Regions from separate parts of the Homo sapiens genome. Here regions 1, 3 and 4 are each linked to region 2. Evidence: promoter capture Hi-C in 16 types of primary human blood cells and fetal thymus (Javierre and others, 2016). All regions are on one chromosome and are shown on one strand. The core of a region is centred on a gene start or on the middle of the fragment in contact, and the rest is flanking DNA. Distances in the headings are between cores, read along the strand shown.

What was found. The method cuts DNA at HindIII sites, captures the fragments that hold promoters and counts their contacts. A CHiCAGO score of 5 or more calls a contact.
Region 1: a fragment that was not itself captured here is called in contact with the fragment with the promoter of DDIT4 in region 2 in 1 of 17 cell types (fetal thymus); the score reaches 6.7 in fetal thymus.
Region 3: a contact is called between a fragment that was not itself captured here and the fragment with the promoter of DDIT4 in region 2, in 1 of 17 cell types (total B cells). The highest score is 5.0, in total B cells.
Region 4: a fragment that was not itself captured here is called in contact with the fragment with the promoter of DDIT4 in region 2 in 5 of 17 cell types (fetal thymus, total B cells, naive CD4 T cells and 2 more); the score reaches 9.0 in fetal thymus.

Annotation. Positions count from the first base shown.
Region 1 is chr10:71,879,633-71,883,021 of GRCh38, reverse strand. No RefSeq gene overlaps it. Among named protein-coding and RNA genes, the nearest start is that of LINC03139, 3.2 kb to the right of the region's middle. The HindIII fragment of the contact is 6,930 bases long and covers 1-3,389 here.
Region 2 is chr10:72,271,941-72,275,394 of GRCh38, reverse strand. It overlaps DDIT4 (DNA damage inducible transcript 4), which reads right to left and starts at 1,471. Exons shown (of 3, transcript NM_019058.4): 1 at 1,335-1,471; 2 at 974-1,238; 3 at 1-700. The coding sequence starts at 1,178. The coding sequence ends at 207. It overlaps DDIT4-AS1 (DDIT4 antisense RNA 1), which reads left to right and starts at 1,684. Exons shown (of 2, transcript NR_186445.1): 1 at 1,684-2,545; 2 at 2,878-3,454. RefSeq lists enhancers at 1,097-1,216, 1,927-2,450, 2,451-2,974. The HindIII fragment of the contact is 3,971 bases long and covers 1-1,903 here.
Region 3 is chr10:71,837,800-71,841,226 of GRCh38, reverse strand. The region is part of intron 1 of PSAP (prosaposin); the gene reads left to right. Among named protein-coding and RNA genes, the nearest start is that of PSAP, 12 kb to the left of the region's middle. RefSeq lists an enhancer at 2,273-3,041. The HindIII fragment of the contact is 2,953 bases long and covers 257-3,209 here.
Region 4 is chr10:71,895,774-71,898,863 of GRCh38, reverse strand. No RefSeq gene overlaps it. Among named protein-coding and RNA genes, the nearest start is that of LINC03139, 19 kb to the right of the region's middle. The HindIII fragment of the contact is 1,602 bases long and covers 656-2,257 here.

The sequences.
Region 1 (3,389 bases), core at 480-2,979, 390 kb after region 2:
TGGGGTTGGATAGTACTGTTATCTTTCTTCTCCAGGATAGCAGCAAACCTTTCCCTCCAAGTTTTCCTCCAGAGATCTGGCAAGAAATGTTCCCTTCGTTTGTAAGGAAGGCCTTCTGGTTTCCTACCTGGCACCATGGAGTGGAAAGGTGACCTTTCCTAGAACATCTCCCCAAGGCCAGCCTTCTCCCAAGAGAAAGAAAACAGGGCCTGTTGGCTCACGGTTCGTTCTGTTTTCCCTTCCTTGAAAATCAGGGTAGAGAAGCTCCAAGTAACTTTCCTCCTCCTTGGCCTGCCCAGAGGCCAAACAAGATTGTTACTGAAGACTCAGGGAGGCTGGGCATGATGGCTCACACCTGTAATCCCAGCACTTTGAGAGGCTGAGGTGAGTGGATCACAAGGTCAGGAGTTCAAGACCAGCCTGGCCAACGTGGTGAAACCCCGTCTCTACTAAAAATACAAAAATTAGCCAGGAATGGTGGCAGCCACCTGTAATCCCAGCTGCTTGGGAGGCTGAGGCAGAAAATTGCTTGAACCCAGAGGCGGAGGTTGCAGTGAGCTCAGATCGTGCCACTGCACTCCAGTCTAAAAAAAAAAAAAAAATTGCCGGGCATGGTACTGGGTGCCTGTAATCCCAGCTACTCAGGGGGCTGAGACTGGAGAATCGTTTGAACCCAGGAGGCAGAGGTTGCAGTGAGCCGAGATTGCACCTGGGTGACAGAGTGAGACTCTATCTCAAAAAAAAAGACTCAGGGAAACAGCACTAGAAACCCTGGATTCACCCATTCCCACATGCATGGGAAGGAGAGAAAAGACATCATCTTTGTTCATCCCTCACAAGTTCGTGATTGAGGCATTCTCCTCAAACAAAAGATAGATTGACAAGAAAAAGAAGCAATTTTATTTTTAACACGTGCTATGCCCATCATGTGGGAGAAACCTCAGTTCAAAAATATCTTTTGAAGGCTGGGCACAGTGGCTCACACCTGTAATCCTAGCATTTTGGGAGGCTGAGGCGGGGGAATCACTTGAGGCCTGGAGTTTGAGACCAGCCTGGGCAACATAGCAAGACCTTCGTCTCTACAAAAAAATTTACAGTTAGCTGGGCATGGTGGCTCAAACCTGTAGTCCCAGCCACTTGGGGGCAGGATCGATTGAGCCCCAGAGGTCAAAGCTGCAGTGAGCCTAGATTATGCCACTGCACTCCACCCTAGGTGACATATCAGGACCCTGTCACACACACACACACAAAGGCCGGGCACAGTGGCTCATGCCTGTAATCCCAGCTACTCGGGAGGCCAAGGCGGGTGGATCACCTGAGGTCAGGAGTTTGAGACCAGACTGACCAATATGGTGAAACCCTGTCTCTACTAAAAATACAGAATTGGACTCACACCTGTAATCCCAGCTACTCGGAAGGCTGAGGCAGGAGAATTGCTTGAACCTGGGAGGCAGAGGTTGCAGTGAGCCAGGATCGTGCCATTGCACTCCAGCCTGGGTGACAGAGCAAGACTGTCTCAAAAAAACAAAACAGAACAAAACAAAACAAAAAAATGTCAAGGAGGCATATTTTAGGGGTGGAATACTCTGGTTTCCTTCAAATGTATCAGTTCATTGTTACATTTATTCATGAAATAATTTGCTTAGTCACCTATTTAACTAGGGTTCCTGAAGGCCTTCTGTGGGGTGCCTGGCTTGGTGCCCTTGAGATGTGCCTGGGAGCCAGCTTCTGCCCCTTAGCATCACATGCTGAGGGAGGCATTGTGAGACAGTCATGGCTTCCCCTTCAGGCCTGCTGAGCTCTGCATGGCCCGGCTCACTTCCACCTCATGCCCAGCTCAGCCCTCCTTCTGCCAGACACATGTGCACCCAGGACTCTGCCTGGAAGATGAGCTCTGTGCCCCACCCCTCTGCCAGGCTGACTCTTGCCTATGCTTGGGTCTCAGCTCAGATCCGCCTGCTCCCAGAAGCCTTCTACGGCTGCCCAATTCTGGACTGGGTGGCTTCCGAGGCAGCCCCTCCCTTTAAATCTGACCACATGCCCTGTGGTCTCTGCCCCTTCTCTTGTAGGTCCCCCCCCCACCCCTGACCGCAGACTGTAACCTCTGGAGGGCAGAGATGGTATCTGTCTCATTAAGCCTTGGATCTGTTTTATCCCAAACAGTGTTCAGCATGCCCTAGGTGCCCAGTAAACACATGGGGAGAGGGGTGAAAGGTGTAAGGATTGCTGGGAGCAGCAGGCAATGTGCAGCGTAGCTCTCTGAAAGATACAGACCTCAGAAATGCTGCAGGAGCCCGGTGGGGCTGGGATGATGAGAGGAGACCTCCAGGATGCAGGGGGCATGCGCTGGCCTTGCAGAGTAAACAGGCACCAGACGAGCCGAGGGGAGGAGAGGCACTCGGGTGAGGCAAGCGGCATGAGCAAAGCACAGACGGTACACAGCATGGTGTGTACACATGAGCCAGTATTGGCTGGAGTAGAGGCATGGGCAGGGAGGTCCATGGGACAGGTGGGCATTGCAGGTTGAGGTCACTGGGGCAGAATGTTGTGGGAGCATGCTGGAGAGGTGGAGAGGTGGAGGGGAGAAGGAGAATAGAGCATTGACTGCCAGGGAGATGAATTTGGCATTGATCCCATGGGCATTAGAGAGCCAAAAGAGACTCTATCTCTGTTTTTTGTTTTTTTTTTTTTTCTTTCTTTTTTCTTTTTTTGAGACAGGGTTTCACTGTTGTTGCCCAGGCTGGAGTGCAGTGGTGCAATCTCAGCTCACTGCAACCTCCTCCTCCCAGGTTCAAGCGATTCTCCTGCCTCAGCCTCCCAAGTAGCTGGGATTACAGGTGCCCGCCACCACGCCTGGCTAATTTTTATATTTTTAGTAGAGATGGGGTTTCACCATGTTGGTGAGGCTGGTCTCAAACTCCTGACCTGAGGTGATGCACCTGCCTCGGCCTCCCAAAGTGCTGGGATTATAGGTGTGAGCCACCTTGCCTGGCCGAGAGTCCATCTTTAAAAATAAATAAATAAATAAATAAATAAAAAGTAATTTTATTTGAAAAACAGGAAGACCAGGCATGGTGGCCCACACTTGTAATCCCCACACTTTGGGAGGCTGAGGCAGGAGGATTGCTTGAGGCCAGGAATTTGAGACCAGCCTGGGTAACACAGTGAGACCCCATCTCTACAAAAAAAACTTAAAATGATCACTGCTCAAACCTAAGCCAGTAATAAAAAAAGAAAAAAAAGGGCTGGGCACGGTGGCTCACACCTGTAATCCCAGCACTTTGGGAGGCCAAAGTGAGCAGATCACGAGGTCAGGAGATTGAGACCATCCTGGCTAACACAGTGAAACCCTGTCTCTGCTAAAAATACAAAAAATTAGCCGGGCATGG
Region 2 (3,454 bases), core at 222-2,721:
GAGGGGTATGTGTCCCCAATGCACAGCCACCCGCACACAACTCAATGAGCTTCCTGGGAAACACTATTCCCCCACCTCCACCTTAGGTGGCTGCCTCAGTTTTCCAACCACAGGAATCAGTCCCTCAGCTCCTGCCTCTAGTCTCCACCCCAAAAGTTCAGTCGTCTCTGTCTTGGAGGGCACTGTCGGCCCCCTCAGGTTGAAGTTCAACACTCCTCAATGAGCAGCTGTTCCGAGCTGTACAGCTTCTTCTTGATGACTCGGAAGCCAGTGCTCAGCGTCAGGGACTGGCTGAAGCCAGGGAGGAAGGGAGAGTTGGCGGAGCTAAACAGCCCCTGGATCTTGGGCCAGAGTCGTGAGTCCAGGCGCAGCACGAGGGTCAGCTGGAAGGTGGGCACCAGGCTGGGGTCGAGTGCCAGCTGGCCCACGCTGTGGCAGCTCTTGCCCTGCTCCACGCAGACGTCCAGCAGCGCCCCCCGCAGGCCGCACGGCTCGCTGTAGGCCAGGCGCAGTAGTTCTTTGCCCACCTGGCTTACCAACTGGCTAGGCATCAGCAGGCGCGCAGGGCGTCGAGAGCCCAGCCGCGCCTGGGCCAGGCTCTCCTGCAGCAGCTGCATCAGGTTGGCACACAAGTGTTCATCCTCAGGGTCACTGAGCAGCTCGAAGTCGGGCAACGACACCCCATCCAGGTAAGCCGTGTCTGGAAAGGAGAGCACACAGGAAGGGGTATTAGAGCGGCTTCAAAACGAAACGCACAGGCGGGGGAGGTGCTGTTTCCTTAAGAAACCAACGCTCCTTCCCACTCCGTGCCTCAGTTTCCGCCTCACTCACCTTATACTCCAATTCCCCCTGCCCCCAAGCAATCTGGGTCCCGATGGGATAGGAAGCCAAGGCGGCTCTGACCCCTTCCAGCACCGGGGCTTCCCCACCTTCCCGGCCCCTCGAGTCGCGTCGGCACCCGCCCACCGCTCACCTTCCTCCGGCCCGAAGCCACTGTTGCTGCTGTCCAGGGACTCGCAGTCCGAGCTCTCCAGGCTCGTGGAGCGGTCAAACCCCTCCTCCCGGGTCGCCGACCCCCAGGCTGAGCGCGGCGGCCGATCTGGGGTGGGAGTTCGGGGCAAGGACGAGGGCGAAGAGGAGGTGGACGACGACGAGAAGCGGTCCCAAAGGCTAGGCATGGTGAGGACAGACGCCAGGGCGTTTGCTGATGAACTCAGAGTGCCGGAGCGTAGAAGCCGCTGTAAGACAAGAGGGGGACCGACCAGGCGTCAGTCTGGGGACCAGACCAGACCAGACCGCGAGCTCTAGGACCCACACACAGAAGGGACACTCACCAGCTAGCGCGGTCAGCGAGAACTGCTAAGACAAGTGCGTCCTGCCGCTTGAATGGGTGTGCGAACCCGTGCCAACCACCGAGAGCCGCCCAGACCCGTCCCAGGTCCACGCTCGCACCTCCCCCTTGGCCTGCTGCGCCCTAGCACCAGCGCGGAGCAGCCTATAAGGACTAGCGCGGCGAGGCCACGCCTTCTCTGCGCCACGACCCAATCCAGACCCGGGAGTGTGGCCCGCCTTGGCCAATGGACTCCGGGCGCACGTAAGCAACGTTCTCTCCTGCCCGGTGACAGCGGCCGGGCCCCGCCTCCATTGAGCCCCAGAAAGCTCGCAGTCGAACCCCGACCCACCGCCACGCCCCCTTTCTGGAAAGGATCCGCGGCGGCTGCAGCTGCCAAGGTCCCCGAGGGCGCTCGCGGCAGGGGAGGATCAAGGAAAGACTTGTTTATTATAGGGTTGCATTGCTGGAGGAGGGGACAGCCCGTGACCAGGCTAGGAGGAGAGGCAGGGAAGCGTGAGGGGGCGGCGGGCAAGGAAAATGGTTGCCCCCAGCGTCTTGGATCCTAAAGCTTCGGGAACAACTGGGCACACACGGGGGGGATGCCCGTGGGACGGCGGCGCAGGAGCAGACGTTAGCCCGGCCTGCCCTCGCGCCCTTACCCCCTCTATCCCTGCTTTGCAAAGGCTCGGGATATGGGGGTGGGGTCCACAGACTGGGAAGCTCCGGGCACCATGCTGCCCCTTCCCCAAGGCCCCACCTGCCCATCCTGGCTGTTACTCTACAGCCCAGGACATAGGTTAATGGGGATCCCTGCCTCCTCCCAAACCCTATCTGCTTCCACTTCCAACTGCTCCCAAGGAGAGGGCTTGAGGAGAGTGGTTAGAGGAGTGTGGATGGGCCCGGGTTCATAGCGCCCAGTGCAGGGATGGAAGCGAGGATTCACAGCAGTCGGACTCACAGACCCATCCGCCCTCCCCGCGGACTGCAGGCAGCGCAGCCGGACCTCCCTGCCCGGGCGCCCCCCGGGTCCTAGCACCCAGCGCTCGCCTAGCGCTTTGTGTAAAAGATCCAGACGGTTGCATCAGGACCGAGGACCGAGATCTCTGGAAAAGCCAGGGAGTGCAATGGCCATCCCGTGTTTCATCATTCAGGCGGGGCCACAGGAAATCTGGCCTGGCAGCAGTGCTCAGAGGCTAACAGTGGTTGCTGAGGGTGGGTGGAGGTTGAGACGGACTCGACCTTTATTGCTCTAAAGGTTTATCAGTCTGGGACAGGAGGACCCTGATGGAAGAGGGAGCCAAACTTACATCAGATGCCCAGGGCCCCGGGGGCGGGCAAGGAACCTAACCAGATAGGCGGGCCTTGCCTCGGGTCAGGCTTGCTTTCGCGTGACAAATGACACTTGCAGGAGATGTCAGGCCACTGCCCTCCGCAACCCCCATCCCCACCCCAACTTAGAAAAAAGAAAAAGCTGACACTTGGGCCAAGACTTAGAACCTGAAAGAACCAGAATCCAAGCTCTGCACCCTACTCTCATTTGACAGGTGGGAGACCCACTTATGGAGACAAATTTATGGATTAAAAAAAGAAATCAGGGGATCCAGGAGACATCTTAAAGACAGCTGCAGAATGGAATAGTTTGTGAGCCACTGGGACTTTCAAGGCCTTCTCTTCCCATTCTTCAAGCTCTGTCGCTTGTTGGAGCCTTAAAGACACCAGATTGCTTAACAATGGGGATATAAAAATTAAAAATAATAAAAGACACTGGATCAAGGCGGCTAGTTGTTCTTGGAGGGCTGGAGTAGATGACATACTCTTGAAATCACTCTTACAGAGGTGACCTGCATGGGTGTGTCTTCCTGCTGGCCAGAGAGAAGATCTGAATTAATCCATCAGGAACATTCACATTTCCTCCAGGCTGATTTGGGCGGGACACCTAAACACCCTAAGGAAACAAGAGTTACGATGTTTTTTCTTCTTCTTCTTCTTTTTTTTTTTTTTTTTGAGATGGGGTCTCACTCTTTCACCCAGGCTGGAGTGCAGTGGTGCGATCTTGGCTCACTGCAAGCTCCGCCTCCCGGGTTCACACCATTCTCCTACCTCAGCCTCCCGAGAAGCTGG
Region 3 (3,427 bases), core at 484-2,983, 430 kb after region 2:
GCCAGCACCAGTTTGTGTGGGTGCCTGTGCCAACTGCGGTGCAGCATGCTGGATCTGCAGTGGAGCTTTCTCGAGGATGGGGAGCCATGCAGAGCCCGCCTCTGACCCCTGCCTCCACTTGCTCACTTGGCTGGAATCTGGATAGTCCTGCCAAGGGCTAGTTTTTCAGTCATGGATTACCATGTAATCTTATCTAAGGTGATCTAAGTTCTTCTTTGATCATCACCTGATATGTTGATGCTTTGGAAGAAAAGCTTTGTTAGGAGTTTTTATTGGACTACAGTACCCTTGAATGAACTAGTTAGGAATTGTCCCCAAATTAATTAAGCCTCCATTGCATACAATCTGAGAAGATTGCATTCTTGTCCCCAGCCTCAGTCATTACTGCACAAGGTAATTTCCCTGAGGACTCTGTTGCCTTCTCCGTGTAGATAATGTCCTGCCCTGGAATCATCTGGCTTGTAAGGAAAATTAAGAAGCGAGGCTGTAGCAGCAGAGGAGAAGCAGGGAAGAAAGGACCTTTGTCTTAACACTTTGAGGCCAGAGGTGATGGGATGTCAGCCTAGTGAGCTTAAGAGCTTTATTGCCACTGATTTCTTATGTGATATGAGGACTCTTGGACCTTAACTCCTCCAAATCAAGGGAGACTACCTCTGAGCGTATACTATTCTGAATGATTCAGTGAGCTGTGTTTTTATTCTGCTCTGCAGACTGTTTTCCAAAGGCAGGATTATCTATGAGGAAGAGACAAGTGCTCTTTGCCATAGAAGATATTTGTGGCAATAGCTGTTTGAGTAGCTAGTGTTGAGTGCATTGCATTATCTCCTGCTCTTAGGGGATGGAAGTGCATGAATTCCTCTGAGAAATGCCCTGCGGTAGAAGCCGCTCCTCCAGGGGTTATCCTCTCTTGGTTTCCTAGCAACCTGCCTGTTGCCATGGTGCCGCCTTACCCAGGCAGCAGATCTGCTGCCCTGTGGAATGTAGGCTCTGATTGTCAGCACTGGGAGGCTGCATGCATTTTCTGTTACCTCTTTTTTTTTTTTCTGGTAGCTAGATTCAAATTGTACTTAGCATGTTACTAAAATATTTAAAAGGAAAAGCATATGTTGTATGGCTAAAATAATGAGACTGATTGTTTTATCACATTCTAGGAAATGTTGTCCTGTCATTTTAAGATTGCTTCAGAAAATCTTTGGTGATTATGTTGTGTACTGGGCTTTTCGGTATCCTCACTGGGGTAAGCCAGGAAACACTTGTTGGGAGACCTTTCTGTAAGCGAGGTCGTTGATTAAGTATGTATATTAGTTGGGCTTAGGTTTGACTGTAAACAACAAATACATAGAATAATAATGGCTTATTTGTTTTTCTTATTTTTGATGGAGTCTCGCTCTGTCGCCCAGGCAGGAGTGCAGTGGCGTGATCTCGGCTTACTACAACCTCTGCCTCCTGAGTTCAAGCGATTCTCCTGCCTCAGCCTCCTGAGTAGCTGGGATTACAGGCACCTGCCACCACACCCAGCTAATTTTTGTATTTTTTGTAGAAATGGGGTTTTGTCGTGTTGCCAGGCTGGTCTTGATTTGTGAGCTCAAAATGATTCTCCTGCCTCAGCTTCCCAAAGTACTGGGGTTACAGGCATGAGCCACCGCACATGGCCCTGAAATCTATGTCTTTAAAAAAGTCCCATTGTGGGGCCAAGCATGGTGGCTCACGCTTGTAATCCTAGCACTTTGGGAGGCCGAGGCGGGTGGATCACGAGGTCAGGAGTTCGAAACCAGCCTGGCCAACACGGCAAAACCCTGTCTCTACTAAAAATACAAAAATTAGCTGGGCATGGTGGCAGGCGCCTATAATCTCAGCTAGTTGGGAGGCTGAGGCAGGAGAATCGCTTGAACCCGGGAAGTGGAGGCTGCAGTAAGCCGAGATCGTGCCACTGCACTCCAGCCTGGGCGACAAGAGCAAGACTCTGTCTCAAAAGAAAAAAAAAAGAGCCCGTTGTTCCAAGCTGTCTTGCCAGGCCCTTGAACTAAGAAGTGAAGTGCTCAATTTGCCCCGAGTGCTGTTCATGTCTTTATGACACATTTAATTGGAAATCTTTAGGAGGTCAAACATTCTAAGAACTTTTTTGGAGTTCAGCATACTGCCTCAGAGAAGGAAGCTGGTATTTGGGGGTAGGGTGTGGGAGGATGAGAATAGAGATTAAAGGCTTTGCTGGCCACATGTTTTGAGAAATAACTCACGAGAAAGTGTTTTTGGGTAGTGTTTATTTATTAGTTATAAATGCTGAAAATGTTATCTGCCTTGTTAGAGTGAAGACTTGGAGCTCCTCGGAGCTCTTTTAGTTCAGCCCACCACTGAAAGGATCCCTCTTATATAGAATTGCTCATAAGTTATGCATTTTGTTTCTGCTTGTTTGCTTCCACTGTTGGTGAGGTCATCACCTAATGATGCCACTCATTCTCTCTTTTTTTTCTGAGACAGGCTCTGGCTTTATTGCCCAGGCTGGAGTGCAGTGGTGCTGGGGCACTGGAGTGCAACCTCCGCCTCCTGGGCTCAATCGATCCTCCCACCTCAGCCTCCTTGGTAGCTGGGACTACTGAGGCGTGCACCACCACGTCCAGCTAATCCGTTCTCTTTTTATGCCCCTGGGTGGATGTTAAATGCATTCTTTACCTGGAGCTGTGGTCTGCTTCCTTGCACCCATTGTTCAGAGATCTGTGGTCTGGAGCCACTCATACCAGCTCCACACCCTGGTGGAAGGTGTACGGGATTCTCCCCCTCCTTGGAGATGACCGCGTGTCTCTGAAACATTCCTTCTCCCGTCACTCATCCCCAGTCCTCCAGGGGACTCTCTGGGTGGGGCCCCAGGCCCTCCCCTCCCTGGCCTCTGCTGAGCAGCTCACGTTGCTCATGGGCGTGTCTCTCCTGGTGCTATTGGCCCTTGCTGTTCTGTTTTCCCTTTGAGTCTGCACAACTTCTCATGGAACCCTGTTAGTGCCATTTGCCCATCTTGTTCTCTTGGACTCTGTGTTAGCCTCTCTTGGCTCTTGCTGCTTCCATTTCTCATGTGGACGTTTTTGAATTCGCCTTCCAGTTAGGTGCCTGACATTGGTATCTCCCACCTCCTCTTCAGTTCTGCCACCTTGTGCCTGGGTGGTTGAGACCCACACATGAGCTTGCCTGTCCTGTCCCTCCCAGAAATCCCTGAAGCTTCCTGCAGTATCGCCCACGGGGTTGAGCCCTCACCTTAGGGTGTGTGGGGCAGGTGAGACCATTCCCCCAAGCACCTGAGATCTGTCTGCCTTTGCAGCCTGGCTGCCGCTACTTCCCTTGGCTTCGCTCCTGAAAAGACAGGACAGTTTCTTCCCTTCCCCACAGAGAACTGGACTCCTTTGGAATGTTCTGGAATTCCCCACTCCCTCTCCACGTA
Region 4 (3,090 bases), core at 207-2,706, 380 kb after region 2:
ACTGAACTCTTCAATGCCCAGACACCGAAGAACATCTGCTAGCAGCATGACCCAGGAAAACATGACCTCCCCAAATGAACCAAATTAGACACCAGGGACCAATCCTGGAGAAACAGAGCTCTGACCTTTCAGACAGAATTCTGTTTGAGGAAACTCAAAGAAATTCAAAATAACACAGAGAAGGAATTCAGAATTCTATCAGATACATTTAACAAAGGGATTGAAATAATTAAAAAACATCCAGAGCAGAATTTCTGGAGCTGAAAAATGCAATTGGCATACTGAAGAATGCATCAGAGTCCTTTAATAGCAGAATTGGGCTGGGCGCAGTGGCTCATGCCTGTAATCCCAGCACCTTGGGAGGCCGAGATGGGTGAATCACCTGAGGTCAGGAGTTGGAGACCAGCCTGGCCAACATGGTGAAACTCCGTCTCTACTAAAATTGCAAAAATTAGTTGGGCATGGTGGTGGGCACCTGTAATCCCAGCTGCTCGGGAGGCTGAGGCAAGAGAATCGCTTGAACCTGGGAGGTGGAGGTTGCAGTGAGCTGAGATCTGGCCACTGCATTCCAGCCTGGGCAAGAGAGTGAGACTAAACAACAAAAAGTTAAAAAGTTGCCAAGACAGTATTAAATTGAAACAAAAATCAAGAAGCTTTTAAAAACAAAGTTAAAAAGCAGGAGATGCTGGGCACCATGGCTCATGGCTGGAATGACAATACATTAGGGGGCCGAAATGAGAGGATCACTTGAGCTTGGGAGCTTGAGACCAGACTGGGCAACATGGTGAGATCCCCATCTCTACAAAAAAAAAAAAAAAAACCCCAAAAAACAAAAAAAACAAAAAAAACTTAGTCGGATGTGGTGGCACATGTTTGTAGTCTGTGGTGGAAGGTGAGCCATGATTGTGCCACTGCATGCACACCAGCCTGGGTAACAGACTGAGACTCTGTTTCAAAAAAAAAAAAAAAAAAATGCGAGGGGACTAAGTTAAGAGGTAGTTTTGTTTGTTTGTTTTGTTTTGAGACAGAGTCTTGCTCTGTCAGCCAGGCTGGAGAGCAGTGGCACAATCTCGGCTCACTACAATCTCGGCTCACTGCAACCTCTGTCTCCCAGGCTCAAGCTATTGTCCTCCCTCAGCCTCCTGAGTAGCTGGGATTACAGACACGTGCCACCATGCCCAGCTAAGTTTTGTATTTTTAGTATAGATGGGGATTCACCATGTTGTCCATGCTGGCCTCGAACTCCTGACCTCAAGTGATCTGCCTGCCTTGGCCTCTCAAAGTGCTGGGATTACAGGCATGAACCACCATGCCCAGCCAGGAATCACATTTCAACATGAGATTTGGAGGACAAACGTCCAAACCGTATCAACCTTTATGCTTCTTTTTGGCTTCCAGGAAAAACAAGACCCCTCTCTCAGGTGCCCTTAAAGAACCCCATCCTTTTTCACAGCATCTAACCAAACTTTGGTTTTTTGAGACTAAATTTTTTTTGTTCCCTCACCAAATTATAAGTCCCATGTGGGCAGGACCTGGGCCCCTTTTGCTTCTCACTGTGTCCTCAGTGACTAGGACAGTGCCTGGCACTTTGCAGGTGCTCAAACATCTTTTCTTGGTTACATGAAAGAGTGAATGGCTTTTTTGAGCACCTACTAGAGATTAAAAGTTTTATAGATGTCAAGTTTTCCTAAAGCCAAGCACAGTGGTGGCCCGGTTTGGCACTCAATAACTTACTGAGTCCTTGCCACCCAGGTCTGCGTTCTGTCTCTCTGGGTTTAGGGGTCTGGGATGTGGCCTTCCCTAGGGCTGCTATGAGTTGCTGTGGAGGCAGAGAAGACAAGGCTTAGCCTGCTAGCTGGAGCACTTCAGGCATCATTACTGTGGGCAGCTCTGTGAGGTCACTCCTGCCCCAATCCCTGGGCACCCGGCTGAGTGTGAGGCTTTGAGGACCAACCTAGAGATTAGGAACAGGGTTTTAGGCCAGGCATGGTGGCTCATGCCCATAATTCCAGCACTTTGAGAGACCAAGGTGAGAGGGTCACTTGACCCGAGGAGTCGGGGATCAGCCTGGGCAACATAGTGAGTCCCCTTAGCTACACTTAAATTTAAAAAAATAGAAAAGAAGGAACAGAAAATAGAAAAGAAGCAAATAGAAATAGAAAAGAAAAAGAAAAGCAAGTATAATAGAAATAGAAAAGAAGCAAATACTGTATTCTTCTGCCGTCTCATGGTCAGTCCTAGAATAGCAAGGGAAGCTTCCCCACCTCTCTGGTACTATACTGGGAGTGACCGCCAGAGGGCAGTGTTCTCCACATTGTTGCACCCAATAGGTGTCCCACCACACAAACCCAGCTCTTTAAAAAGTAGATTTTTTTCTTATCCAAAGTCGATTCATACAAAAAGAAAAAGAAATAAAAAATAAATTATTTTAATGGCTTCATTGCTACATGTTTGTTTTTTTGAAAAGGAGTCTTGCTCTGTCGCCCAGGCTGGAGTGCAGGGGGGTGATCTCCCCTCACTGCAACCTCCGCCCCCTGGTTTCAAGCGATTCTCCTGCCTCAGCCTCCGAGTAGCTGGGTTTACAGGCATGAGCCACCACGCCCGGCTAATTTTTGTATTTTTAGTAGAGACAGAGTTTCACCATGTTGGCCAGGCTGTTCTTGAACTCCTGACCTCAAGTGATCTGCCCACCTTGGCCTCCCAAAGTGCTGGGATTACAGGCGCGAGACACCGAGCCCAGCCCTCATCTCTATTTTAAATTATAAAAAAATTTTTAAAAGAATTATTGAGGACCCAGATATTTATTAATTTATCAAAAAGTAATAATGAACTCATTACATGTAAACATAAACATATTTTTACGAAAAATACCTTCATTTCCAAAACAAAGAGAAATTTAGTGAGAAAAACAGCATTGTTTTACACTTTTGCAAATCTCTCAAGCAACTGTCTTAATTAAAGACTGTTGGAGCCTCATGTCTACTTCTGCATTCAGTCTGTTGCAATATGTTGGGGCTTTTAAAATTTTTATTTATTTTTTTATTTTGAAACAAAGTTTTGCCCTTGTCGCCCAGCCTGGAGTGTAATGTT